Regions from separate parts of the Homo sapiens genome. Here region 2 is linked to region 1. The links are contacts of gene promoters, found by promoter capture Hi-C in human tissues and cell types (Jung and others, 2019). All regions are on one chromosome and are shown on one strand. Each heading gives the region's core, a stretch centred on a gene start or on the middle of the fragment in contact. The rest is flanking DNA. Distances are from core to core; before and after follow the strand shown.

What was found. Contacts are between HindIII fragments. The study calls those that stand out against the background at their distance.
Region 2: a contact is called between the fragment with the promoter of PKN1 here and the fragment with the promoter of CC2D1A in region 1, in 3 of the 25 tissues and cell types used here (dorsolateral prefrontal cortex, lymphoblastoid cells and spleen).

The regions. Positions count from the first base shown.
Region 1 is chr19:13,902,303-13,909,757 of GRCh38, reverse strand. CC2D1A (coiled-coil and C2 domain containing 1A) reads right to left here and starts at 3,557. Exons shown (of 29, transcript NM_017721.5): 1 at 3,257-3,557. The coding sequence starts at 3,316. It overlaps BRME1 (break repair meiotic recombinase recruitment factor 1), which reads left to right and starts at 3,641. Exons shown (of 9, transcript NM_001345843.2): 1 at 3,641-4,043; 2 at 4,845-4,896. The coding sequence starts at 4,866. RefSeq lists a silencer at 3,183-3,242. The HindIII fragment of the contact is 13,583 bases long and covers 912-7,455 here.
Region 2 is chr19:14,429,981-14,437,435 of GRCh38, reverse strand. It overlaps PKN1 (protein kinase N1), which reads right to left and starts at 4,130. Exons shown (of 22, transcript NM_002741.5): 1 at 3,894-4,130. The coding sequence starts at 3,914. RefSeq lists enhancers at 2,045-2,339, 3,090-3,662, 3,663-4,236, 5,111-5,390 and silencers at 3,401-3,510, 3,801-3,870, 4,041-4,380. The HindIII fragment of the contact is 61,187 bases long and covers 1-7,455 here.

The DNA of each region.
Region 1 (7,455 bases), core at 2,308-4,807:
GCCAGAGAGTCCCCTTGGGAGGAAGGAAACAAGGTCTCCCAGGGAAAGCCATTTCCCTGGGGAGTGCCAGGAGGCTGGAACAAGCCCAGAACAGGTGTTCCAAGATAGGCCAGGCCCTCTGGCACAGTTCAACCTGGGGCAAAGGGCAAGAGACCCAGCTCTCTGATCTGAATCCACACTTATGATGTGCTGCTGGGCCAAGTTCAGTGGGAAAAGCAGGCCCCTGGCTGGGCGCAGTGGCTCACGCCTGTCATCCCAGCACTTTGGGAGGCCAAGGCAAGAGGATGGCTTGTGTCTGGGAGTTCCAGACCAGCCTGGGCAATACAGTGAGACCCCCAACTCTACAAAAAAAAAAAAAGTTTTTTGTTTTTTGTTTTTTTTTGACACAGAGTCTCGCTCTGTCACCCAGGCTGGAGTGCAGTGGTGCAGTCTCAGCTCACTGCAACCTCCGCCTCCGGGGTTCATGCCATTCTCCTGCCTCAACATCCCGAGTAGCTGGGACTACAGGCGCCCGCCACCACGCCCGGCTAATTTTTTTTTTGTATTTTTAGCAGAGACGGGGTTTCACCTTGTTAGCCAGGATGGTCTCGATCTCCTGACCTCATGATCTGCCCGCCTCGGCCTCCCAAAGTGCTGGGATTACAGGAAAAAAAACTTTTTAAAATTAGCTGGGAGTTGTGCTGTGTGCCTGTGGTCCCAGCTACTCGGGAGGCTGAGGCAGGAGGATCACTTGAGCCTGGGGAGATCAAGGCTGCAGTGAGCCATGACTGTGCTACGGCACTCCGCCTGGGCAACAGAGTAAAGCCCTGTTGAAAGGAAAGAAAGAAAGAGAGATGGAGCCGGGGAGGGAGAGAGGGAGGGAGGAAGGAGGGAAGGAAGGAAAAAAAGAAGGAAGCGAGGGAGGGAGGGAAGGAGGGAAGGAAGCAGGCTCCACACTTTGCCCAAAGCAAAGCTACTCTGTACACTTGGGCTTTTCTTTCCAGCATCCTCAGCAGAGGGGCTGTGTGGGAAGGTTGGGCTTCAAGAGCATGATGGCTGCATGCGGTGGCTCACGCCTGTAATCCAGGAGTTCGAGACCAGCCTAGCCAACATGGTGAAACCCCGTCTCTACTAAAAATACAAAAATTAGCTGGGAGTGCTGGCGGTGTCTGCAATCCCAGCTACTCGGGAGGCTGAGGCAGGAGAATTGCTTGAACCTGGGAGGTGGAGGTTGCAGTGAGCTGAGATTGCGCCACCAAACTCCAGCCTGGGCAACAGAGCAAGACTCTGTCTCCAAAAAAAAAAGAAGAGCAATTAGAAGCCCTGACGACAGGGCCAGGTGCAGTGGCTCACGCTTGTAATCCCAGCACTTTGGGAGACCAAGGTGGGGGGATCACCTGAGGTCAGCAGTTCGAGACTAGCCTGGCCAACATGGTGAAATCCCATCACTACTAAAAATACAAAAATTAGGCCGGGCACGGTGGCTCACGCCTGTAACCCCAGCACTTTGGGAGGCCGAGGCAGGCGGGTCACCTGAGATGGGGAGTTCGAGACAGACCAGCCTGACCAACAGGGAGAAACCCCGTCTCTACTAAAAAATACAAAATTAACCAGGCATGGTGGCGCATGCCTGTAATCCCAGCTACTCGGGAGGCTGAGGCAGGAGAATCGCTTGAACCCGGGAAGCGGAGGTTGCAGTGGGCCGAGATTGCGCCACTGCACTCCAGCCTGGGGCGAGAGAGCAAGACTCTGTCTCAAAAACAAACAAACAAAAAAAGAACCCCTAACCACAATGCAGGTTTGCCATGCAGACCCGTCTTCCTATCTTGGCTAATGACCAATCATGATGTGATAACATCGTGTTTAACCATATGAAATTGCCTTTCCTGTAGGTAAAAAATGGCCAAATATTGGCAATTATGTATGGTTCCACCAACTAGTAATAATGATAATAGTAACATTTATTGAGTGCTATGTTCTAGCACTTTCCATAAACTATCTCAATGACTCTCTACAACTGTCCTGTAATGTAGGGTCTCTTGGAGGTCTCCATTTTTAATTTTTTATTTATTTATTTATTTTCAGAAGGAATTTATTTATTTATTTTGAGAAGGAGCCTTGCTCTGTCACCCAGTCTGGAATGCAGTGGCGCGATCTCAGCTCACTGCAACCTCCGCCTCTCGGTTCAAGCGATTCTCCCACCTCAGCCTCCCGAGTAGCTGGGATTACAGGTGCCCGCCACCATGCCCAGCTAATTTTTGTATTTTTAGTAGAGATGGGGTTTCGCCATGGCCTCCCAAAGTGCTGGGATTACAGGTGTGAGACACCACCCCGGACTTCCATTTTTAATTTTTTATCTTTATTTTAGAGAAAGAGTCTTGTTCTGTCACCCAGGCTGGAGCAGAAGTAGCGCAATCATAGCTCACTGCGGTCTTGAACTCCTGGGCTCAAGCAATCCTCCCTTCTTAGCCTCCCAAGTAGTAGTACTACAGGCACATGCCACCATGCCCAGTTAGTCTTTTTTTGTCGAGACGGGGGTCTTGCTTTTGCCCAGGCTGGTCTCAAACTCTGGCCTCAAATGACTCTCCCACCTCTGCCTCCGCCTCCATCTCCTGAAGTGCTGGGATTATAGAGATCTCCATTTTACAGATGAGAAAGCTGAGGCTCAGAGCTGTAAAGTCAAGTGTCCGATGTACAGAGGCCAGGAGGGAACTTCAGGTCAGCCAGACTCTAATATCTGAACACCAAGCTATGTCCTGGGCTCCTTCCATCAAAACTGAGAAAAATCAAACTATCTGGTGCCTGGGGCAAAGAAGTCGGGAGAGTGAGAAGGGGTCCAGCCACAGTGCCATAAGCTTATGGCTGCAGCCCTGGATTTGTGCTTAGCCCTGGCCAAGCTGTTAATCCCTATGACCTTGGGCAGATGTCTTCACGTCTCTGAGTCTCAAAGTCCTCATCTGTACAATGGAATAAAAAGAGTCTGACATGGCCCGACTGATGCAAGGGTTTGATGTGTCAAGTCCGAGGACTGCCCCTCCTCGACTGGAGCAGCTGTGGCAACAGGTGGCCCCGAACCCGGGGCAGGGCCCCAGGAGCTGGGGAGCCAAGGCCAGTAGGCCACACTTGGGTGGTGTTGGAGCCTCACCTGGGGGGAGGCGGGGACCGGGGCTTACCTGTGGGGCGGAGATCGGGCTTCCCTGGGGGGTGGGGCCCTTCCCTGAGCGAGTGACGGGGGTGGGGAGGGATCCCCAGGTCGGGCCGTGGGGCGCAAACTCACCTGGCGGGCGGCCGCGGCGCCTCTGCCCGGGGGTCCCGGGGGTCCTTTCCTCTTGTGCATCTTCAAGGCTGGATGCCCGGACCACCTGCCCCCAAGCCCGGCCTTGCCCTGCCTCCTTCCCCGGGCTCTGTCGCCGCGCACTCGCCCTTCCTGAGTCCTGCACTCCTCGTCGGCGCCCCGCGGCCGTCGATCCCGAGCCCTCGCTTCCCTGCTTGGCCGTCCCACTTCCGCCTCGGGCCTCGGGCGCCGCCGCACCGGAGCGCGGCCACTGGGCTCGCCGGGTCTGCCGAGCCGAAACTACAACTCCCGGCAGGTAGTGCGTGGGCGCGCAGGCGCCTGGCTGGGGCGGTGCTGACTGTCGCGGGCTGCGAGGGCGGTGTTTGCGTCGCTCATGCGCGGGGCGGGACCTCGCGGGGCGCGGGAAAGAGGCAGAGCGCGCGCAGGTGTGAGGGGCGGCGACATCTGTGGGGTTCAGAGCGTCTGTCAGTCACCGACGGGCTCCGGCTTCACGTGGGCTCTCGGCCTGTGGAGTCCTCACTTCTCGGTGGTCGGCGTAGTGTCAGTGTGGGGCTTGTCACCGGGAGCGGGGTCTACAGCGCCCACCCTCAGGCCTTTCCATCTTTCACCTCCGGACTCGAGGCCTCCAGCGTTCTGTGAGGGCCAATTTGGCCATTTATTTTTTCCAAAAAGAGTAACGCGGATAATTCAAGCGACTTATTCCCAACTGATCCAGGCAGAGCTCGTTTCTGATAAGGACAGAGGGTCCTCAACGACTTCTGTGGCCCAGGTCCGTTCTGGTTTGCCTCGCCCCCAAGGCTGGGAGAAACCGGCCTATGGCAGCTCTTTCCCCTCCAAGGACCCAGCTGTCCCCTTTAAAGTGGCACGATCTTGGCTCATTGCAACCTCTGCCTCCTGGCCTTGTACCACAGCCTCCTGAGTAGCTGGGATTACGGGTGTGTGCCACCGCACCTGACTAATTTTTTTTTTTTTTTTTGAGACGGAGTCTCGCTCTGTCGCCCAGGCTGGAGTGCAGTAGAGCGATCTCGGCTCACTGCAACCTCTGCCTCATGGGTTCAAGGAATTCTACTGTCTCAGCCTCCCAAGTAGCTGGGATTACAGGTGTGCGTCACGATGCCCAGGCTAATTTTTGTGTTTTTAATAGAGAGGGGGTTTCACCATATTGGCCAGGCTGGTCTCCAGAGGCCCCTGGAGAGTCCTCAAGTGTCCTTGGAAGGGCCCCCAGATACCCCAGTCTGGAGGGAGGGGCTTCACACAGGCTGTTTCATCCTAGGGACCAGAGTCTGGGTCCCCGGGGCTATCTATAAGGACCCCCCAGGGCCCATTTGTCTTTCAGGTCCTGGGCATAAGATCTTCAGTTTGGAGGAGGTTTGAATTCCTACCTGGCCATGGCCCAAAGTGGCTGTGACTCTGTGTCCCATCCTGTGTCCCAGTGGGAGCCATCTGACCCCTGGGGCAGCCAAATGGGCTGAGGTGGAGGTAGGGGTAACCTCTGCTCTCAGCCAAAGCCACTGGATATAAACAGAGACAGAGACTGCTTATAATGATGAGAGATTTTGCTTGTTTTCAGATTTCTCAAGGGGAAGATAAAATGACTAAGAGGAAGAAGCTGCGGACCTCAGGTACGTTCATTCAAATGGACACTTGTTGATTTCTGCTTCTGCTTGTGGGAAGAATGTGGGCTTGTTTATTGCAGATCTGGCTAACACGACTGCCTTAACCTCCTTAAAAGGAAGCAAGGATTGGCCGGGTGCGGTGGCTCACACCTGTAATCTCAGCACTTTGGGAGGCCGAGGCGGGCAGATCACAAGGTCAGGAGTTCAAGACCAGCCTGACCAACATGGTGAAACCCCGTCTCTACTAAAAATACAAAAATTAGCCAGGTGTTGTGGCACATGCCTGTAGTCCCACCTACTCGGGAGACTGAGGCAGGAGAATCGTTTGAACCTGGGAGTCCGATGTTGCAGTGAGCCAAGATGGTGCCACTGCACTCTAGCCTGGGCAACAGAGCAAGACTCTGTCTCAAAAAAAAGAAAAAGACAAAAAGGATTTAATTCATGCTGGTAAGAAAAATAGAAGGCCGGTGTGGTGGCTCACGCCTGTAATCCTAGCACTTTGGGAGGCCGAGGTGGGCGGATCGCTTGAGTCCAGGAGTTCAAGACCAGCCTGGGCAACATAGCGAGATCCTGTCTCTACAATGTAAAGTAAGGAAATTAGCTGGGCGTGGTGGCAGGCACCTGTAGTCCCAGCTACTCAGGAGGTTGAGGCAGGAAGATTGCTTGAACTGGGAGGTGGAGGTTGCAGTGAATCCAGATCGTACCACTGCACTCCATCCTGACTGATAGATTGAGGCCCTGTCTCAAAAAAAAAAAGAAAGAAAGAAAAATAGAAATAACGGAGAGGGCATACAGGAAAAGTAAAAGTGAAAGTTTTCTGGAGCTTCTGCAAGCCTCTGGTGGGGTCCCACAGCTTAGAGGAGGCCTCCCCGGGCTTCAGGGCAGCGGGACAGCCTCCCTGCGGAACCAGTCCCAGAGATGACCCCTGGAATAATGCTTGATGTACTACAAGGCCACTCGGTATGTGGCTGAGTGTTTTACTCTGGGGCCCAAAACCTGGGTTCATCCCAGTTCTGCTCAGTGTGTGGTGGTGGATGATTTCCTCTGTGCCACAGTTTCCCCTTTTGTAAATTGGGGATAATAAAAGCCACTACCCTTTCCTTTAGAGCAGTGTTTCTCAACTAGGTGAGAGGAAGGGATTTTGACCTCCAGAGACAGCTGGCAATGTTTGGAGACTTTATTTTTTTTTTTTTTGGAGACCAAGTCTGACTCTGTCGTCCAGGCTGGAGTGCAGTAGCAAGATCTTGGCTCACTGCAGCCTCCACCTCCTGGGTTCAAGCGATTCTGCAGCCTCAGCCTCCTAAGTAGCTGGGACTACAGATGTGCACCACCACGCCCGCCTAATTTTTGTATTTTTAGTAGGGATAGGGTTTCACAATGTTGGCCAGGCTGGTCTCAAACTCCTGACCTCAGGTGATCTGCCTGCCTCAGCCTCCCAAAGTGCTGGGATTACAGGTGGGAGCCACCGTGCCCGGCCTAGAGACTTTTTTTGGTTTTCATAACTGGGGAAATTATACTGACATCTAGTGGGTGGAGGCCAGGGATGCTGCTCAAATATCCTACCATGCATAGGATGCCCCCCAGCCACAGAGAATGATCCAGCCCCAAATGTCCTCCAAGGTGAAGAATCCTGCCCTTAGAGCTCACATGTGGATTAGTATCTGTAAAGCACCCAGAACTGACCTAAGGTAGTACACAAATGTACACTGCTGTTAACAATTCTTCTTCCAGACTTTTAAGAAAACTTTTATTTTGAAGTAATCTGGGACTTAAAGAAAAGTTGCAAAAATAATTCAGAGAGTTCTAGCTACCCTTCTCCAAGCTTTCCCTAATGTTGACATCTAGCATAGCCATAGGACAGTGATCAACTGTAGAACAGCATGAAAAACAGGACAGGACTCTAACCTCGGTACACTGCTTCTAGACTTTTTTTTTTTTTTTTGAGACGGAGTTTCGCTCTTGTTGCCCAGGCTGGAGTGCAGTGGCGCGATCTCGGCTTACTGCAACCTCCACCTCCCAAGTTCAGGCGATTCTCCTGCCTCAGCCTCCCAAGTAGCTGGGATTACAGGCACCCACCACCATGCTGAGCTAATTTTTGTATTTTTTTAGTAGAGTCAGGGTTTGGTCAGGCTGGTCTTGAACTCCCAACCTCAGGTGATCTGCCCGTCTTGGTGTCCCAAAGTGCTGGGGATACAGGAGTAGGCCACCGCGCCCAGCCCAGACTTTTTTGTTTTTGTTTTTGAGACAGAGTCTTGATCTTGTTGCCCAGGCTGGCGCGATCTCGGCTCACCGCAACCTCTGCCTCCTAGATTCAAGCAATTCTCCTGCCTCAGCCTCCCAAGTAACTGAGATTACAGGCATATGCCACCATGCCCAGCTAATTTTTTTGTATTTTTAGTAGAGATGGGGTTTCTCCATGTTGGTCAGGCTGGTCTCGAACTCCCAACCTCAGGTGATCCGCCCATCTCGGCCTCCCAAAGTGCTGGGATTACAGGCATGAGCCAGCGCGCCCAGCTCAGACTTTTTTTTAAGATGATGTCTCACTCTGTTGCCCAGACTGGAGTG
Region 2 (7,455 bases), core at 2,881-5,380, 530 kb before region 1:
TCAAGCAATTCCCCTGCCTCAGCCTCCTGAGTAGTTGGGACTACAGGCACGTGCCACTGCGCCTAGCTAATGTTTTGTATTTTTAGTAGAGACGGGGTTTCACATGTTGGCCAGGCTGGTCTCAAACTCCTGACTTCAAGCAATCAGCCAGCCTCGGCCTCCCAAAGTTCTGGGATTACAAGTGTGAGGCACTGTGCCTGGCCAGTAACAGTTTTCCATTGAGGGGAGATTTTCTCCCCATACCCGGGGACATGCGGCAACATCCGGAGACATTTTTGGTTGTCCTGACTGTGGGTAAGGAGGTGACTTCTATCAGGGTGAGGCCAGGGATGCCACTCAACGCCCTGCAGTGCACAGGACAGCCTCTACTGCAAAGAATGACCCAGCCCTGAATGTCAGTAGTGCTAAGGCTGAGAAGCCTACGGTTAAGGGTCATAGATTTGGCCAGGTGTGGTGGTTCACGTCTGTAATCCCAGCGCTTTGGGAGGCTGAGGCAGGAGCAGTGCTTGAGGTCAGGAATTGGAGATAAGTCTGGGCAACACAGCAAGACCTACAAAAATCTCTACAAAAAATAAAAAAGTATTGGCCAGGTGTGGTGGCTCTCTCTGCCTGTGATCCTAGCACTTTAGGAGGCCAAGGCCGGAGGACTGCTTGAGCTCAGGAGTTCGAGACCAGCCTGGGCAATAACGGTGAGACCCCATCTCTACAAAAAATGTAAGAATTAGCCAGGTGTGATGGCATGTGCCTGCAGTCTCAACTACTTGGGAGCCTGAGGTGGGAAGCTGGCTTGAGCCCAGGAGGCAGAGGTTCCAGTGAGCCGAGATCACACCATCACACTCCAGCCTGGCCAACAGAGCCAGGCTTTGTCTCAAAAAAGAAAAAAAGAGGCCAGGCGCGGTGGCTCATGCCTATAATCCCACCACTTTGGGAGGCCGAGGCAGGCAGATCACGAGGTCAGGAGATCTAGACCATCCTGGCTAACAAGGTGAAACCCTGTCTCTACTAAAAACACAAAAAAATCAGCCGGGCATGGTGGCGGGCGTTTGTAGTCCCAGCTACTTGGGAGGCTGAGGCAGGAGAATGGCGTGAACCCAGGAGGCAGAATTTGCAGTAAGCCGAGATCAAGCCACTGCACTCTAGCCTAGGCGACAGAGCGAGACTCCATCACAAAAAAAAAAGGAAAAGAAAAAAAGAAAGGCTGGGGGCAGTGGCTCACACCTGTAATCCCAGCACTTTGGGAGGCCTAGGCGGGCAGGTTACTTTGAGCTCAAGATTTCAAGACCAGCCTGGGCAACATGGCGAAACCCTGACTCTACTAAAAATACAAAAATTAGCCAGGCGTGGTGGTGTGCACCTGTAGTCCCAGCTACTCAGGAGGCTGGGGTGGGAGAACGGCTTGAGTCTAGGAGGCAGAGATCATGCCGCTGCACTCCAGCCTGGGTGACAGAGTGAGACCCCAGTCTCAATTTAAAAAAATAAAGAAAAAAAAATTAGCCAGGTGTGGTGGTGCATGCCTGTAGTCCTGTAGATCAGGTGTTTGAGGCTGCAGTGAACAAGAATCTCGTCACTGCATTCCAGCCTGGGTAACAGAGCGAGACCCTGTCTCTACAAAAGTAAAAGGAAATTAGCCAGGCATGTTGGTCTGTGCCTTTTGTCCCAGCTACTTGGGAGGCTGAGGCAGGAAGATCACTTGAGCCCCGGAAATTGGAAATCGAGGCTGCGGTGACATAGGATCGCACCACTGTACTCCAGCCTGGGTGACAGAGCAAGACTCTCTCCTCTAAAATAAATAAATATAAATCAGTAAATCAATCAATAAGGACACAGATTCACACCCTGAGCTGCTGACCAGGACGCTTACCAGTAACGACTTCACAGCAGCCCTGCCTGCCAAGTGCTGGCAAGGTCTCGGTCTCTCTCTCTCCCATGAACACCCTCTTAGTCCCATTTTTCCTAGGTCAGAACCGAGGCTCAGAGAGGCGAAGGCACTGGGCCCAGGACACACAGCGAGGAAGTGTCAGCGCTGGAATTTAAGCCCAGGCTCACCAAATACCACCCTCGCTCAGAAGGCCCCACCCCATCCCCAGCAGGCAGAGGGAGGACACAGCCAAGAGCGGGGCCAGCTCAACTGGGGAAGTCCAGGCAGAGAGGAGAGGTGGCCTCCCTCAGCCCCACCTCCAGCAGCTGAGGTCTGTAATGCACAGAGGGAGGGAGGCTGGGCTCCTGGGTTCTCCTCCCCTGAGTGACTCACTTCTACCCAAGGCACAGGGGTCACCTGAGGGCCAGCAAGGCAAACCCAGGACTCAGGGCCCTGGCCTGGCCTGTCCTATGGAGAACCCCTGCTCCTCCGCTGCCCACCATGGAGCGGAGACCTCAGACCCAGAGGACCTGCCTCCCATAATCCCCATCTTGCCAGAGCAGCCAGGGACCTAGACTCCCACATCCGGAGATTTCAATGCCTTGGGCGTTTCCGGAATCTGGACAGGACATCCGTTTGCAGGACACAGAACAGACAGGCACACGTTGGGACAGACAGAGGGACAGGGCAGCAGGCCCAAGCAACCATGAGAGAGGGATGACCAGGAGCGGGGAAGAGACTGGGGAGGAGATGGGAAGGGGGGACCAGGGCGTGGGTCCAGCCTCGTTGCAGGAATCACAGCCTGTCTGGGTCATGTGTGGGATGCGCCAAGCGCATGCATGCACCCGGGGATTCCTACACAGCCCTCCCTGGGCCGGGGGTAGAGGCAGGGACCCCGGCCCATCCCGGCCTTGAGGTCTGACCTTGTGTGATCGGCAACACCAGATACGCCCAGCTCCTCGGCAAGGCCGGCAGGCCATCAGCAGGACTGGGAAGGCGGGAGGGACCGGGGGTTACCGGGGAGACACAAAGGGGCCGGGGGCAGGTGCAGAAGGAGACGAGAACCCAGTTACACAACAACCACAGGACAATGAACTGGATGGTGAGGTGCTAATGGGGACACTGAGGCACAGACATTTCTCAGATTTGGGTCACTTGAACCAAAGAAGGTTGGCAGTCACCCTGGCCGTGCTTGTCACAGACGGGGAAGATGAGTCCAGGTCAGTGATCCCCACCAGGTGGCACAAGGGGAATCTGGCTGGGCGGGAGGCTGGTGCCAGTCACGTGTGTGTGTTAGCAGGGTGGGGGTGACCCAGCCATGCCCAGCCACCATGCAAAAAAGTAGGATTCTATATATGGGAGCATCCCTGGCCTGTTGACTGAGACACTCCCCACCCAGGAGAAGGTTCCACCTGACAGCCCAAGGGTGGGAGTGGGGGTCCCCATTCCCCCGACCTAATGCAGTGACTCGGGTACTTCCGCCAACAGGTGCCAATCTGGGTGGCGTCTGGAACATCATAAAGCTGTCTAGAGGCGGGGGTGGCTGGAGCTTTGTTATGCGGGGGAAGGGCACGGGCCGGGCCCAGCAGCCTCCTCCCCTCCCAGGGCACTGCGCCAGGCACGTGCCCCAGGTGGAGCGGCACCTGCCGGGTACCCAACCCTGGGGAGGGGGATGAGTTTGGGGGCGGACGAGAGGCACTGGGACGCCCAGCCAGCCACAGACACCCGAAGTAGAGCCTCCGCCGCGCCCCTTCTAGTTCTCCAGGAGAGGCCGAGTTTGAGGGTGTAGCAGGGGTTGCCTCCGGGATCGCCCCCAAACCAGCCCAGTCCACATCGCCACCTGCCGAGAAGGGGGCCTCGCTGGCTCCACAGTCCCGGCCCAGGGAGGGGGCGCCGGGCGCTCCGGAGGCCCCCGCCCTTGCCATCGTCACCCGAGTCCCGTTCCGGGGGCTGGGGGGGCTCCCCCGGCAGCGCGCGGGCGGGGTCCGCCGGCGCCGTCCGGTCGCCCCGGGACTCCAGACGCAGGTGCGCCTACCTGCACGGCGTCGCTGGCCATGTCCTCCTGCCGCCCGCCAGGGGTCCCCGCGCGGAGGGAGGGGCGGCCAGAGGAGCGCGCGTGCGCCCCGGGCGTGGCGGGGAGGGGGCGGGCGCGGCGCGACCCTCCCCGGCGCGCGGCCCGCTCCGGCCTGCTCGGCTCCCGCCTCGCCTGGCCAGGCCGCCGCGTCCCCGCGCCGCGCCCTCCGGCCCCAGCGGCCGCCGGGCCTGGTCACGTGACCCCGGAGGTCGGCGCCCGGGGAGGGGGCGGGGCCGAGGGGGGACGGGTTCCCAGAGGCCCCCGGGGCTGCGGGGTCCCGCCCGTCCGCCCCCTCGGTCTCCCGAGCCCGGAGCATCCCCATCGGCTCCCCACCTTTCCTCTTTCCGGGTCCCGAGACGACCGCACGCTGCCGAGGGGTCCCCCATTGGAGCGCGCGGGAACCCGAGGAGAACGGTTCCACGCGTTCAAGCCGAGAGCGGCGGAGGCCTTTGGGCCTCCCGGGACCCCTGAAAAAAACAAACAGAATAACCCCCCACCCCACCCTACCCCGGTGCATTTGCAAGCTCGGGACGCCTGCATCTGTGGTCCCCTATTCAAGGGCATGGAAGTTTCCCCGTTACCTGGAGACAAGCTCTGGGCGGATCTGCATTCAAATCCTAGCGCTTTACGCCTTGAGGGAGACAAACCCTTCCAGGCACCTCATCTGTGAAATGGGAATGATGCGCTCACCTCCTCGGTGTTGGTAAAATTCAATAAGACAGTGCAGGCCAAGAGCTGAGAACACACTAGACGCTCCATAAGTGTTAGCTGCTGTCACTTTTAATGTTATCGTAATTGTTTGTTTGTTGTTTTGCTATTTTTGGACGGAGTTTCGCTCTGTTGCCCATGCTGGAGTGCAGTGGCGCGATCTCGGCTCACTGCAACCTCCGCCTCCCGGATTCAAGTGATTCTTCTGCCTCAGCCTCCTGAGTAGCTGGGATTACAGGTGCCCACCACCATACCCGGCTAATTTTTGTATTTTTAGTAGAGACGGGGTTTCATCATATTGGCCAGGCTGGCCTCGAACTCCTGATCTCAGGTGATCCGCCCGCCTCGGTCTCCTAAAGTGCTGAGATTACACAGGCCTGAGCCACCGCGCCCAGCCTCTATTATCGTTATTGTTATTAAAAGAGGTTTGAATCCCAACTTGCTGTTCATCCTGGGGACCCCTGTGGCCTCTGAGTCTCAGTTTTCCCCGCTATAAAATGGGCATCGCCTTCTTTTTCGGGGCTGCTGCATGCAGATGGCGCTCCATAAATGCAGACTCGTGCCCAAGCGGAGAGTGGAGGCCTCTGCGGAATTTCTAGGGGATCTCCGGGGTCTGCAGAGCGTGCAGCTTTGTTCGTGGCCGCCGTCGGACCCTCACTCCTTCGGAAACCAGGCGAGGGAGCCAAACCTTGGTCTCCGGGGCTCCGGCAGGGAGCGCTCCCTGGCGGCGGTGCCTGCACATTGGCGCCCTTTGGGACCCGAGGAAGCGCCGTGGGCTGCGGGTACCTTGGTTACCCGTGGCTCTGCGTGGTTTCAGTCGTCCCAGAAACCAGGGCGCGATGTTTTCTCTCTTATTTTTTCCTCTGAGCAACTCTTTGGGAGATACTAACAACAGAAAGAGAGAAGGAGGAGAATTATGCTGATCCAGAACCCATCCAGCCGGGCATGGTGGCGCACGCCTGTAGTCCCAGCTACCAGGAGGCTGAGGCGGGAGGATCGCTTGAGCTCAAGAGGCCGAGAATGCATCACTGTGGGGAGAAATCATGATGCCCCTGCACTCCAGCCTGGGTGACAGAGCGAGACCCTGTCTAAAAAAAGAAAGAAAAAAAAAAACGGCTGGGTGCAGTGGCTCACCCCTGTAATCCCAGCCCTTTAGGAAGCCAAGGTGGGTGGTGGATGGATCACTGGAGGTCAGGAGTTCGAGACCAGCCTAGCCAATATGGTGAAACCCATCTCTGCTAAAAAATATAAAATTAGCTGAACGTGGTGGCGCATGCCTGTAATCCCAGCTACTCGGGTGGCTGAGGCAGGAGAATAGCTTGAACCCAAGAGGCGGAGATTGCAGTGAGCCGAGATCGTGCCATTGCACTCCAGCCTGAGCGACAGAGCAAGATTCCATCTAAAAAAAGAAAAAAGAGGGGGCCAGGTGTGGTGGCTCACGCCTGTAATCCCAGCACTTTGGGAAGCAGAGGCAGGCGGATCACGAGGTCAGGAGATTGAGACCATCCTGGCTAACATGGTGAAAGCGGCGGGCGCCTGTAGTCCCAGCTACTAGGGAGGCTGAGGCAGGAGAATGGCATGAACCCAGGAGGCGGAGCTTGCAGTGTGCCGAGATCGCGCCACTGCACTCCAGCCTGGGCGACAGAGCGAGACTCCCTCTCAAAAAAAAAAAAAAAAAGAGAAAGAAAACAACAACAACACACACACAAGCCCAGAATTCACCCACATTTCACCTTTCCACTTTGTCGCATCCAGTCCCTACCATCACTCACCTTAACCAGTAGTCACCTCTCTCCTGGTCTCCTGGTTTTGCCCTCGCCCCCACAGTCTGTTCCCACAACAGCCCAAGGGAGCAGTGAACACATGAGATGGGGTATGCCCCTCCTCTGTCTAGAACCCTCCATGGCTCCCAGCTCACTCAGGGAAAAAACTCAGGTCCTCCCCACAGCCCACGAAGCTCTGCACCATCAGTTCTTACTTCCTCCCATCTCTCCCCCTTGCTCACTCCTTCCAGCCACATGAGCCTTCTAACTGTTTCTCAAATGCTTGTTGATTGAATAAAAGAAAGAACTCTGTGGCTGGGCGCAGTGGCTCCCACCTGTAATCCCAGCAATTTAGGAGGTCAAGGGGGGTGAATCACTTGAGGCCAGGAATTCGAGACCAGCCTGGCCAACATGGTGAAACCCCATCTCTACTAAAAATTAAAAAATTAGCCAGGTGTGCTGGCGGGCATCTGTATATTCAGCTACTTGAGAGACTGAGGCAGGAGAATGGTTTGAACCTGGGAGGCGGAGGTTGCAGTGAGCCAAGATCGCACCCCTGCACACCCCCCTGGGTGATAGAGCAAGACTGTCAGAAAGAAAGAAAGAGAGAGAGAGAGAGAGAGAGAGAGAGAGAGGAAGGAAGGGAGGGAGGGGAAGGGAGAAAAAGAAAAGAGAAAAGAAAAGAACTCATGGCCAGGCATGGTGGCTCACGCCTGTCACCCCAGCACTTTGGGAGGCCCAGACGAGCAGATCACGAGGTCAGGAGATCGAGACCATCCTGTCTAACACGATGAAACCCCATCTCTACTAAAAATACAAAAAATTAGCCGGGCGTGGTGGCGGGCGCCTGTAGTCCCAGCTACTCGGGAGGCTGAGGCAGGAGAATGGCGTAAACCTGGGAGGCAGAGGTTGCAGTGAGCTGAGATCACGCCACTGCACTCCAGCCTGGGGGACAGAGCGAGACTCCAGCCTGGGGGACAGAGCGAGACTCCCTCTCAAAAAAAAAAAAAAAAAAAAAACAAAAAAAAACTCTGCAAGCTAGTTCTTTCATA